Linked DNA regions of Homo sapiens: region 1 is linked to region 2. The links are contacts of gene promoters, found by promoter capture Hi-C in blood cells and fetal thymus (Javierre and others, 2016). All regions are on one chromosome and are shown on one strand. The core of a region is centred on a gene start or on the middle of the fragment in contact, and the rest is flanking DNA. Distances in the headings are between cores, read along the strand shown. Region 1 holds the start of LOC105379087 (a long non-coding RNA gene). Region 2 holds the start of LYSMD3 (LysM domain containing 3).

Region 1 (5,319 bases), core at 760-3,259, 3.6 Mb after region 2:
CGTCATTACGCACTTGACGGCAGCGGCGGCGACAACCCGGAAACGGGCGGGGCGCGGGCCCTGGGTAGGTTCCTGTGGTATTAGGTGGACTGGAGAAAGAGGCCCGCGTGAATTAAGTGTAGTTCTCTTATGCACTGGCGGACTCTGGTCGCCCTTCCTTGTGAAGGCTGCCTGGGTAGCCGTAGAGGACGAGGCCACTCTAAAGCCTCGTTTTCCCAGCGGAATTTTAACTATTCTAAGGATGTCCTTACAGCCAGTTCCCCACTCCGCTACTCAGAGTGTGTCAGACTTTACCCTGTCCATTCAACTCCAGAAAAACCGGGAGGTCTAGATTCGGAAGATTAAATTTACCTTTGAATTAGGACATGTAAAATAGGAAGTTAATATTAGCATCCTAATGACAAAAGTTTTCTCGTTATCATACTTGACTCAAATGGGAATCTTACGGATATTAATGTTTTTTCCAGAAACAGGTTTGAAAGGTATTTCAAGGATAAATCTGGGGAAAGGGATGGAAGCAACTGATTTTTAATTTTTAGATAGTACTCTCAGAGCATTTATTTAGTCCAAAACTGTTAATTTAATGAATTAGGCTAAACTAGACGCTGGGGTAACAAAGCTGAGTTAGATACCCTCTCCTCTGAGGCAGCTAAAGAGAAGGAAAGTCTGGTGGCTGACAAGTAAACCAACAGTTATGTTCTTCAGAGAGGAGATCTCAGACTCTCTAAGGTATACTTCACTTCCACACTGTTTGTACTTTGCAAATGTACCCTGCCCCCTAAAATGTAAACTCACTGATGGTAGTGACATAATCTTGTCTTTTTAATGTATCCTCAACCATACAACAGTGCCTGTCCACAAAGTAGACAATAAATACTTATTGAATGACTGAATGATCACAGTGGTAAATAATAGATTGGGGAAATCTAGAAAAGTGTATAGGACAAGAAGAAAGTGGTGTAAGTAAGTGGCGGGAGATAAGGAGCAGTAAAAGGTGAGAGAATCCACTGGAGTTAGCCAGAACTGAGTACCTGAATGAATCTCGGGCATTGCAAGACTGTTAGGGCTTCATTTCCGGAAAGAACTCAAATGGTTTGTAGAGTGACACTTTATACTGAAGAGGAAGGCAACAGCCAGATTCTGAAAAGCTTTCTATGTCATGCTGAGTAATTTGATTTTCTGCTGCAGACAATTGGGGAAGCTGAAGGATTGTTGAACAGAGGAGGGAAACATTTTTATTTTGGTGGACTTTTGCAACAGTGACAGATTATATTAAAAAGATAAGGCTCCCAAAAATGTATAATCCCAGTTTAACCATGAGAAAAACATCAGACAAAATACCTGACCAGTACTACTCCAAACAGTTAAAGTCATGAAAAACAAGGAAAGTCTGAGAAACTGTCTGAGCCAAGAGGAGCCTAAAGAGACCAACTTTAATGTTGGATCCTGAAATAGAAATAGAACGTAAGTGAGAAAACTAGTGAAAATTGAATAAAAAAGTAACATTCCATTAAGAGAATATACCAATGTTTACATAAAATATGGAGATTGGTCAAAAGATGAGTGACATGACCTTTCAATATTTCCAGGATAGAGGCCCACTCAAGGGTTAGGGGAATGTACTTTGTTCAGTAGTAAACTATTGAACAAACATATGGGTGCTTCAGCCTGCAATTCCAGCTGGACTTACATGGGAATGAATGAGCCTTCAGATTGTTCCTGTCATTGAGTCAGCTGGGGTCCAAAATTTCATAAAGCAGAGACGAGCCATCCCCACTGTGCCCAGTTCTGAATTCCTGACCCACAGAAACAATTAGAGATAATGAAAATGATTCTTGTTACTTTAAGCCAGTAAATTTTGGAGTGATTTGTTTTTCAGCAAAAGAAACTAATAGCTGTATGACAACAGCCAAAGAGTAAATATCCTTTCAAGTCCAATCCTGCCTAAGATGTCAAAATCAAGAATGAAGAGGTTATGTGCTGAAACAGAGTGAGTCCTTTTCTCTCCTTACTCTACCCTAAATGGTAAACTCCTGCCTCAGCTGACCACAAAAATATCTTCTGCAAATCTGTGAGGAGAAAGGAGGGAAAGCAACAAAAATTGTATGTGGGCTTAGATGTTTTGTTAGAATTACAACAGCCCATGTGTAGCTTAGCAGAAACCATTACAATGATGACTACACAATATAGTACAAAAATGTCCCCTCATTTTAACCATAGTCATCTAAACTGTACAAGTTAGTTTATAATTTTAATTTATACATCTCTAGGGAAGCCAGAAACTTCAGTTTCTCTCCCCACCTCTCTTCTCTTGCACTTCAAAATCCTACTAAGATAAGGAAAAAGGAAAGGAGATTTGTTCCCTCCTGGCTAACAGCTGGTCCATCTTTGATCACTAGGATGATCAAAGAAATGTCCCTATACCATATTTTGCGTATCCTCCTCCTATTCCAGACCACTTCCTTGGGCATCTATCTTTTTATCAATCTACTCCCACCCTTCACATTAAATGATTTCAGTGACATACAGCAGACAGACACCTCCAAAAATACTAACAAGGCTACATGTTGTTCATTTAAGTTAAAAATAAAATTTAAACCTACTTATCATGACTAGGACTCAGTGCCAACATTTTGGCAGCTCAAGAAAATCCATTAAGGAAAATATTCTTAATTAGATGCTAAGGGCAAAGCTCTGTCCAAACTAACCAACTGTATTAGAATGAGGTCTGGATTCTGACTTAAATTTGGAGAATCAAGTAACATTCCTGCCCTTGCTCAAGCCCAAGCAGGAATGTGCTGTGGTTTGAATGTGTTCTCTAAAAATTCATGCATTGGAAACATAATTGCCATTGTAATAATATTAAGAAGTGAAGCTTTAAAGAGGTGATTTAGGTGATAGGGACTGTGCCCTCATAAAAGGATGAATGCCATTATTGTGGGAGTGGGTTAGTTATCATGGGAGTGAGCTCCTGATAAAAGGATAAATTTGGTCCCCATTTTCTCTCTGTCTTGTGCACTCTCACTACTCTGTCTCACCCTCTCTCCCCCTGTGATGCTTTCTGCCACAAGATGACCTTCACAAGATGCAGCCTCTGGATCTTGGACTTCCCCAGCCTCCAGAACTGTAAGCCAAATGAATCTCTTTGTTTATAAATTACCCAGTGTGTGGTATTCTTACAGCAGCAGAAAATGGACTAAGACAGTATGTGTGAAGTGTGGATAGTAATTACAACAAGTTCTGCCTTCTAGATTCAGTTTATATTTAAAGCCCAAAAAGTAGGATCATATAACCAAATAATTTCTAATGACCCCTCCAACAAAATGATTATTACTTGAAATCAACCCCCTATCACTTGTACTTTCCATCTAGATGCTGGGGACACAAAACTGAGTTAGACCCAAGAACACCCTTTTCATTATGCCTGGAATTTTTTTAAAATGAGAAAAGATAACATATCAGTGTTCAAAACATACTTTAAGAGAATTTCGAACAAAAAAACATAAAATAGCCTCTAGTTTGTGATGGAGACAATTTGTAGGTTGATATATTTACCTAGAGTTAGACAACCTGTGAGGTTTGAGGGCACAGTCTCTAAGGTGTCCCTGATTTCTGACACCAACTGCAAGTTTGGAGGGTTCCCAGAAACACCCTCAGGTTTGAAATTTTGCTAGAAGGTCTCACAGAACTCACTGAAAGCTGTTATCTTTACAGTTACCATTTATTACAAGGAAAGAATACAGACTAACATCAGCCAAGGGAAGAAACACGTAAGGCAGAGTCCAAAAGGGTACCAAACACAGCGCTTTTGCTATACTCTTCCATTATTTGCTGTACTTTCCCAGTGGAGTCAAGACATGTTACCCTCCCAAAATCCATCCATGACAATATGCAATATAGAATTGCCAGTAACCCTTTTCCTGTTTGCCCTAAGAATACTCACGAGTGGCACTTGCAGCTGCAGCATTTACCTTGAGATTACTTTGCTGATATTGTTTGATGTGTCCCCCCCCCAAATCTCATGTTGAATTCCCATGTGTTGTGGGAAGGACCCATGGGAGGTAATTGAATCATGGGGGCAGGTCTTTCCCTGCTGTTCTTGTAATAGTGAATAAGTCTCACAAGATCAGATAGTTTTAAAATGGAAGTTTCCCTGCACAAGTTCTCTTCTCTTGTCTGCTGCCATGTGAGATGTACCTTTCAACTTCTGCCATGATTGTGAGGCCTCCCCAGCCATGTGGAATTGTAAGCCCATTAAACCTCTTTCTTTTGTAAATTGCCCAGTCTTGAGTATGTTGGATCTGTTTGGAGGGCTCTGAAGAAGACAGGAAAATGTGGGAAAGTTTGGAACTCCCTAGAGACTTGTTGAATGGCTTTGACCAAAATGCTGATAATGATATAAACAATGAAACCCAGGCTGAGGTGATCTCAGATGGAGATGAGGAACTTGTTGGGAACTGGAGCAAAGGTGACTCTTGTTATGTTTTAGCAAAGAAACTGGTAGCGTTTTGCCCCTGCCCTAGAGATTTGTCGAACTTTGAATTTGAGAGACATGATTTAGGGTATCTGGCAGAAGAAATTTCTAAGCAGCAAAGCATTCAAGAGGTGACTTGGATGCTGTTAAAAGCATTCAGTTTAAAAGGGAAACAGAGCATAAAAGTTTGGAAATTCTGTAGCCTGACAATGTAGAAAAGAAAATCCCATTTTTTGAGGAGAAATTCAAGCTGGCTGCAGAAATTTGCATAACTAATGAGGAGATGAATGTTAATCACCAAGACAATGGGGAAAATGTCTCCAGGGCATGTCACAGACCTTTGTGGCAGCCCCTCCCACCACAGGCCCAGAGGTTTAGGAGGAAAAAATGGTTTCGTGGGCGGGGCCCAGGGTCCCTCTGCTGTGTGCAGTCTAGGGACTTGGTGCCCTGCATCCCAGCCACTCCAGCCATAACTAAAAAGGATCAAGGTGCAGCATGGGCTTTTGCTTCAGAAGGTAGAAGCCCCCAAGCCTTGGCAGCTTCCACATGATTTTAAGCCTGTGGATGCACAGATATCAAGAACTGAGGTTTGGGAACCTCCACCTAGATTTCAGAGGATGAAAGGAAATGCCTGGATGCCCAGGCAGAAGTTTGCTACAGGGGTGGGGCCCTCTGGGAGAACCTCTGCTAGGGCAGTGTGGAAGGCAAGTATGGGGTCAGAGCCCCCACACAGAGTCCCTACTGGGGCACTGCAGAGGGGAGCTTTGAGAAGAGAGCCACTGTCTTCAGACTCCGGAATGGTAGATCCACTGACAGCTTGCACCGTGTGCCTGGAAAAGCTGCAA
Region 2 (5,524 bases), core at 1,736-4,235:
GAAGTAGTAAGAAGCACTTTGGAGATAAAATTCTTTGCACTCAAGGTGGTTCAGACATGAAGAGAGGGAGTAAATTAAGCATCACACCAAGATTTCTGATTTGCATAATACATTGTGGTGCCATTCTCTGAGATATGGAAGAGGAGCTGGGGGAGGAGGTGCATGGCTATGATTATGAATTCCTCTAAGATAGTAAAAAGGAATGGCAAATAGACAAATGGGCTATATAGTCAAACTCAGAGAAAAGGTCTAGGTTAGAAATAAAATTTCATGACTAATTTGCACATAGATGAAAATGAATTTGTGAGTACATATATTACCTAGAGAGTATAGAAAAAGAAGAGGGTCCAAGACTGAGCCTTGAAGAAGTCCAAAATTCAGTATCTTGGTGAAAGGAAATCAGCCTGAAAATATGGATAAGGAGTGTCCAGAAGAGGGAGAAACCATGGAAGTGTTATGTCATGGAAGCCAAAGCAAAATAACATCTCAAAGACTCACTATTTTTTGAATACTATGGATGAGTACCAAGCGAAACAAAAACAAACAAACAAAAAACAGAAAAGACCAACTCCAAAACTCTGAGTATATAAAATGGATGACAATAAATTACAAAGGTTGAGAATCCCTAACCCAAAAATCCAATCTTAAATACTCTGAAATTTGAAATACTTTGAGTGCTGACATGAAGCCACAAATGGAAAATTCCACAACTGACGTTTCAGATTTCAGATTAGGAATGCTAAACCTGTACAGGTATTCTGGTGATGTGCTTAGGTACCCTGAACACATTATTTTTTCACTGTATTAATGGTATTTTTTTTTTTTTTTTTACTGTTAAGCACTTATGTGTGAAAAAGTGTAAGAAAATGACTGCTTATTAGTAGCATACAAATTCAGAGTTAGGAATGACGGTGATGCCAAACAACCACAAATTTTCCACAAGGGTGGCTGAGATAGTGACACTTTTACCTGCTGATGGTTCCAGGTACAAGAACTTTTGTGCACAAATCATATAAAATTACCTTCCGACTATGTGTATAAGTTGAATATGAAACACAAATTTCATGTTCAGACAGGTCCCATCCCCAATGTATCTTATTATGTATATGCAAACATTCCAAAATCCAAAGAAATCTGAAACACTTCCGGTCTCAAGCATTTCAGGTAAGGACTACCCAACCTGTACTTTCTAGGCATATACTTATCATAAAATGCTTTAAAACTATTTAATATAGTTGAATCCAACCCTTGAAAAGCACTTTCTGACCTTGCTCTAATGGCAATATTATAATGCTTTAAAAGCTCAAGAGTTCCTATTCAGATAACACAGATAACTAATAGCTATATGTTAAGTAGATTATTTCAACTGTTCTCTGAAGTGCTACATTATTACCAAGAACTAGGATTCCTAACTTGACAGCTATGAAACTAAAGAAAACTATCACATTTTATATCTCAAAAGCAGTTTTGAAGTCATGACCACATCTTTTCCTCCAAGGATAACAGTTTTATTTCCACTCATTTAACCAGGTCTTTTTTTAATCTTGTGTCTTTAACCTAGGGAATGTCTTTGAATCCTGTAGATTCCAGGCAAATTTTATACATATGTATATTTTTCTGGGGAGAATTTTCATTGCTTCATATTCTCAAAAGGCATCCATGATCAAAAAAGTTAAGACTTAATATACAGCAATTTACACTTGGCTATACCGACCTACTTATGTGTCTTGTTAGACAGTTTCACCCTAATAATTTGTACTTAGAACTTCAAAATTGGCTTAGTAGTGCAGCTAACTGAAAATCACTAAGCAATGCCCCAAAGCCATTTTAGATACTTGTTTCTATCAACCTCTCTCCACGATATATTTCTAAATATAATTTAAAGGTCAGAACTTCACCTGTCTCACTATCTCTCCACTCCCCTTTATAATGAAATGCAGGCAGCTGACTATCGTGTTACAAATCTGGGTATTCTGAATGATCAAGAACTGGCTGTGTCTTCAACCGAAGTGAACAGACTGACCCAGGCGATCACTCCAGTCTACTACTCAGAGATTAGAAAATACATAATATTTAAGTCATCTGGCTCAATTCTATTCACCTCTCTTAATTCTCTTAGAGCAGGAAAAAGGCACGAACTCCCTTTCAGAAACTTGGAACAAGCCTGCGTGCTACCTAGATTACGAGGGGCCACAAAACAGTGTTAAAGCATTCTTCAGCTCAGTCTGTAACTGAAAACGGTTTCCCAAACACCTTCGTACTGTAGAATGGCTGCTGGGTGTTTCGCCTTGACCTTCTTTAACTAAGCAAGGTGCAATAAGAGGGTCACAGGGCACAAGTTAAAGCTGCAAAGGGACAGAATCAAAGGCACCCTATCCGCTGCCAGGGACAATTTTGTTTTTTAAAACTTAACTACCTCCTCCCTCTGTATTCCACACGTCAAGTTTTTCTTTCCCTGCTATCGTCAGCGAAGATTACGTCTCAGAGTCTTCTGTCACAGCATGACACTTGAACGATGTGACAAGATGCCGTCAGCGAATATTTCACGCCAACATAAAGTCGTGGGAGAAATGCTGTGTTTGGGTGGGAAATTAGCTGCCCAGGTAATCCAGCAGGTAGGCGTCCTTCCTCTGAGCCTCAGTTTCCCCGACAGTGTGACAAGAGGGCCTGGCAGGGCTGGTCTGGAAGTTCTTCCCTGTCTCGGGGGTGTCCGCCACACGGGCCGAGCCCGGCCCTGCAGCCCCCACCACACCTGTGGCCGAGGCTCAGCGCCTCCCGTGAGGACGCAGCTGGGGCTCAACCCCGCCCTCCTGGACCGGGCTACCCTCACCTCCTGCCACCATCTTTACCTGTCCCCGTTAGCAGGGAGCACTCTGCGAGAAGATGGCCAAAAGGTCCGCCGCCGCCGCTGTCCCGGGTAAGTTCATGGCCGAGCCTCTGCTTTGGGCTGACCCCGTCCGCCTCCGCCTCTGCCGCCAACGTCTCCGCCTTCCGGGCCGTACGCCGCCGCCACGTCCGCAAACCTGAGATGCGTCATCGCGTCAAGTGGGCGGAGGTGGGAAGGGGCGGGGGAGGACGCGGAGGGCAGCCCAAAACGGGGGAGTCCAACCACAGGTCCACGCCCGGCACGCAGGCGCAGGGACTCCTCCGGGGCCCGGGGGCGGGTCCAATCCCCGGGCCCGGGGGCGGGTCCAATCCCCAGCCCCGCCCTTGACTCCGCTCCTTCCGTGCCGCTTCACTCCCCGAGGAAAAGATTTGGTGGCCAAGTCAGCGGATCCAACCCGCGACCACCAGCGACCTACTGGCTGCGTCTTTGTCCAGCGTCCACACTGCGCTGGCAGAGACTGTCGGGTGCACCCTGAGGACGAGGCGTGGCTCAGGATGTGTCGGGGAGCTGTCTTGCATTTTTTTCTTGCTGTGCATCTCGAATTTTCTTTAGGGTGGGAAAGGACACCTCAAAAACACTGTTGACATCACGGTTTCAGAAAATTGCGCCATGTTTGTTACCCTTTTCATGCTGAAGACTCCAGACTGCTGCAGAAGAGGCAGAATTCTGGAGAGAAATCCTTGGGGGACCGAGGACGAGGGTTGGAGGGGGTTGTCTCACCCTTCCTGTTTTTAGGTGAGGGAAGTGAGCCACCTAGAGTCAGGCCCCAGGAAATGTTTTCCCTGGCTCGAGGAGTCAAGGGAGTCAACAAATTGTAATCTAACTTATTTTGGTTTGAAAATTAACTGAGTCATTGGTAGTCACCATTGGACTCTATGGAATATTAGCTTATTAAATAAACTCATGACTTCATACATGATTTTTATCACAAATGTGTTAAATGAGTATCATAATGTGTTTGAATTTATGTATGACTTTGGCAAAAGCCGCAACTACTTTTGCACCAACCTAATTAATGAATGTAAAGCATTTTAATGAGTCTGATGTCTCTCAGTGTTGATATTAGAGACGTTGCACTTTGACAACCATGCTAACTGTTACGACAATATCCATTTTAGGCACAAATAGCTGGGGTGCAGGGTGCAGAGCAGTGCTTTTCAGAATGTCTGAATATTTATACATTAGAAAGCCTTTGAAGCTTGGTTTTAAATTGTTTTTCAAAGAGTATGTTTTTGGTTTTCTGGTAAGTGCCTCTGCAAAGGTTAGGAGTTTTGCATTGCAATAGTTTTCTTTTATTAGCAGGGATAGGCACTGTGCTTCCCAGCGCCACAAAAAAAAACTGCAGGAGAAGACTTTTTTAAAAAGTTTGTCTGAATTGTTCTGTGTGTTGTTGCCCTCATGACACCCCTGTCTGTAACCATTTATCACTGAGACGTTCTCTCATCAGCAGACAAAGGATATATTCCCTGCTTGATATGTAGGACTTCGGCTGCTTAGCCCTCATGAATGTTAATGGGAATACAACCTTCTTTCTGTCTATAGGTTACTTTTCTTATTTTAATGTCAATAGACAGCGGAATTAATGTGAGAGCCAAAGTGATAGATTTCAAGCACTTCTATAGGACCGATACCTGTATCCTTCATATAAATAACTTTCTCAAAGATATCTGCATGCTCTTGAATAGTTATTTGTATTTAACAAGGATGCAAATATTAAACTTTTTATAAAAATGGAAGAATAGGATTATATTTTATTATTAGAATATACAAAAGAAGCAGTTAGCGTGAATTTTGGCCAAGTTCCAAAAAGCCGGCCAGTAGGAACAAGCATTTTGTCTTTGAGAAAAAGGATGTCCCCAGTGCTCAGCAGAGCCAAAGGATTTTTAGTGTTTCAAGATTTCACCTGACACAGTTTCTGTTAAAACGCTATAGATGAAAGAATATGTCATTTCTAGGAATATGTGTTTTAGTCACTAACGTTTAGTTTTTGTGAGTTGCCCTAGAGTAGAAGTTGTACTGAAGTGAGAGTGTAAATTGATGCAACCTGTTAGGCAATATCTATCAAAATTTTAAATGCAACTGACTGAACTATTACATTGCTAAGTAATTACCTTAGATTTACTTACAGACACATATGTGCAAGATTTAACAGATATGTTCAGGAATGTTTGCACAGTAATAGCCAAAATCTGAAAATATTTTAAATGTTTATCAGTAGTTGACTGATACTTCCGGTACATTAAAACAATATAATGTTATACTTGGTTTCAGAAGAGTGAAGTTAATCTGGCATTTGCTGATTTATTCATTCATTTACCTAATAAGTTTCTGTTGAAGAAAAACAGTGCTTAAAAAGACAAATTCCCCTTACTTATGGAGCTTGAATGACTGAAGCGTGTAGAAAGATCTTTAAAATGTATTTTAGTCTATTTTAGGAAGAAAAAATAGGAGGTATGATATTATTTCTATGGAATAAAATTTCAAATAAGCATCCCTCATCCTACCCCCCGTACCCCACCGACACACATATACACATACACATTCACACACACATATATGCAGAGAGATGCACTTAATTTTTCTATCTGGAAAGTCACTCAAGGAATTTTAACAGTGGCTGAAAAGGACTAGACATGG

Evidence for each region. Contacts are between HindIII fragments. The CHiCAGO score rates a contact against its expected background, and 5 or more counts as called.
Region 1: a contact is called between a fragment that was not itself captured here and the fragment with the promoter of LYSMD3 in region 2, in 3 of 17 cell types (naive CD8 T cells, total CD4 T cells and naive CD4 T cells). The highest score is 6.9, in naive CD8 T cells.

The regions. Positions count from the first base shown.
Region 1 is chr5:94,111,676-94,116,994 of GRCh38, forward strand. LOC105379087 (a long non-coding RNA gene) reads left to right here and starts at 27. Exons shown (of 7, transcript XR_001742441.2): 1 at 27-64; 2 at 650-729; 3 at 1,880-1,990; 4 at 3,072-3,126. It also overlaps a transcript of ARB2A not described here. The HindIII fragment of the contact is 1,727 bases long and covers 1,147-2,873 here.
Region 2 is chr5:90,526,599-90,532,122 of GRCh38, forward strand. It overlaps LYSMD3 (LysM domain containing 3), which reads right to left and starts at 2,986. Exons shown (of 3, transcript NM_198273.2): 1 at 2,850-2,986. RefSeq lists enhancers at 2,257-2,757, 3,383-3,642 and a silencer at 3,023-3,272. The HindIII fragment of the contact is 4,420 bases long and covers 1-4,083 here.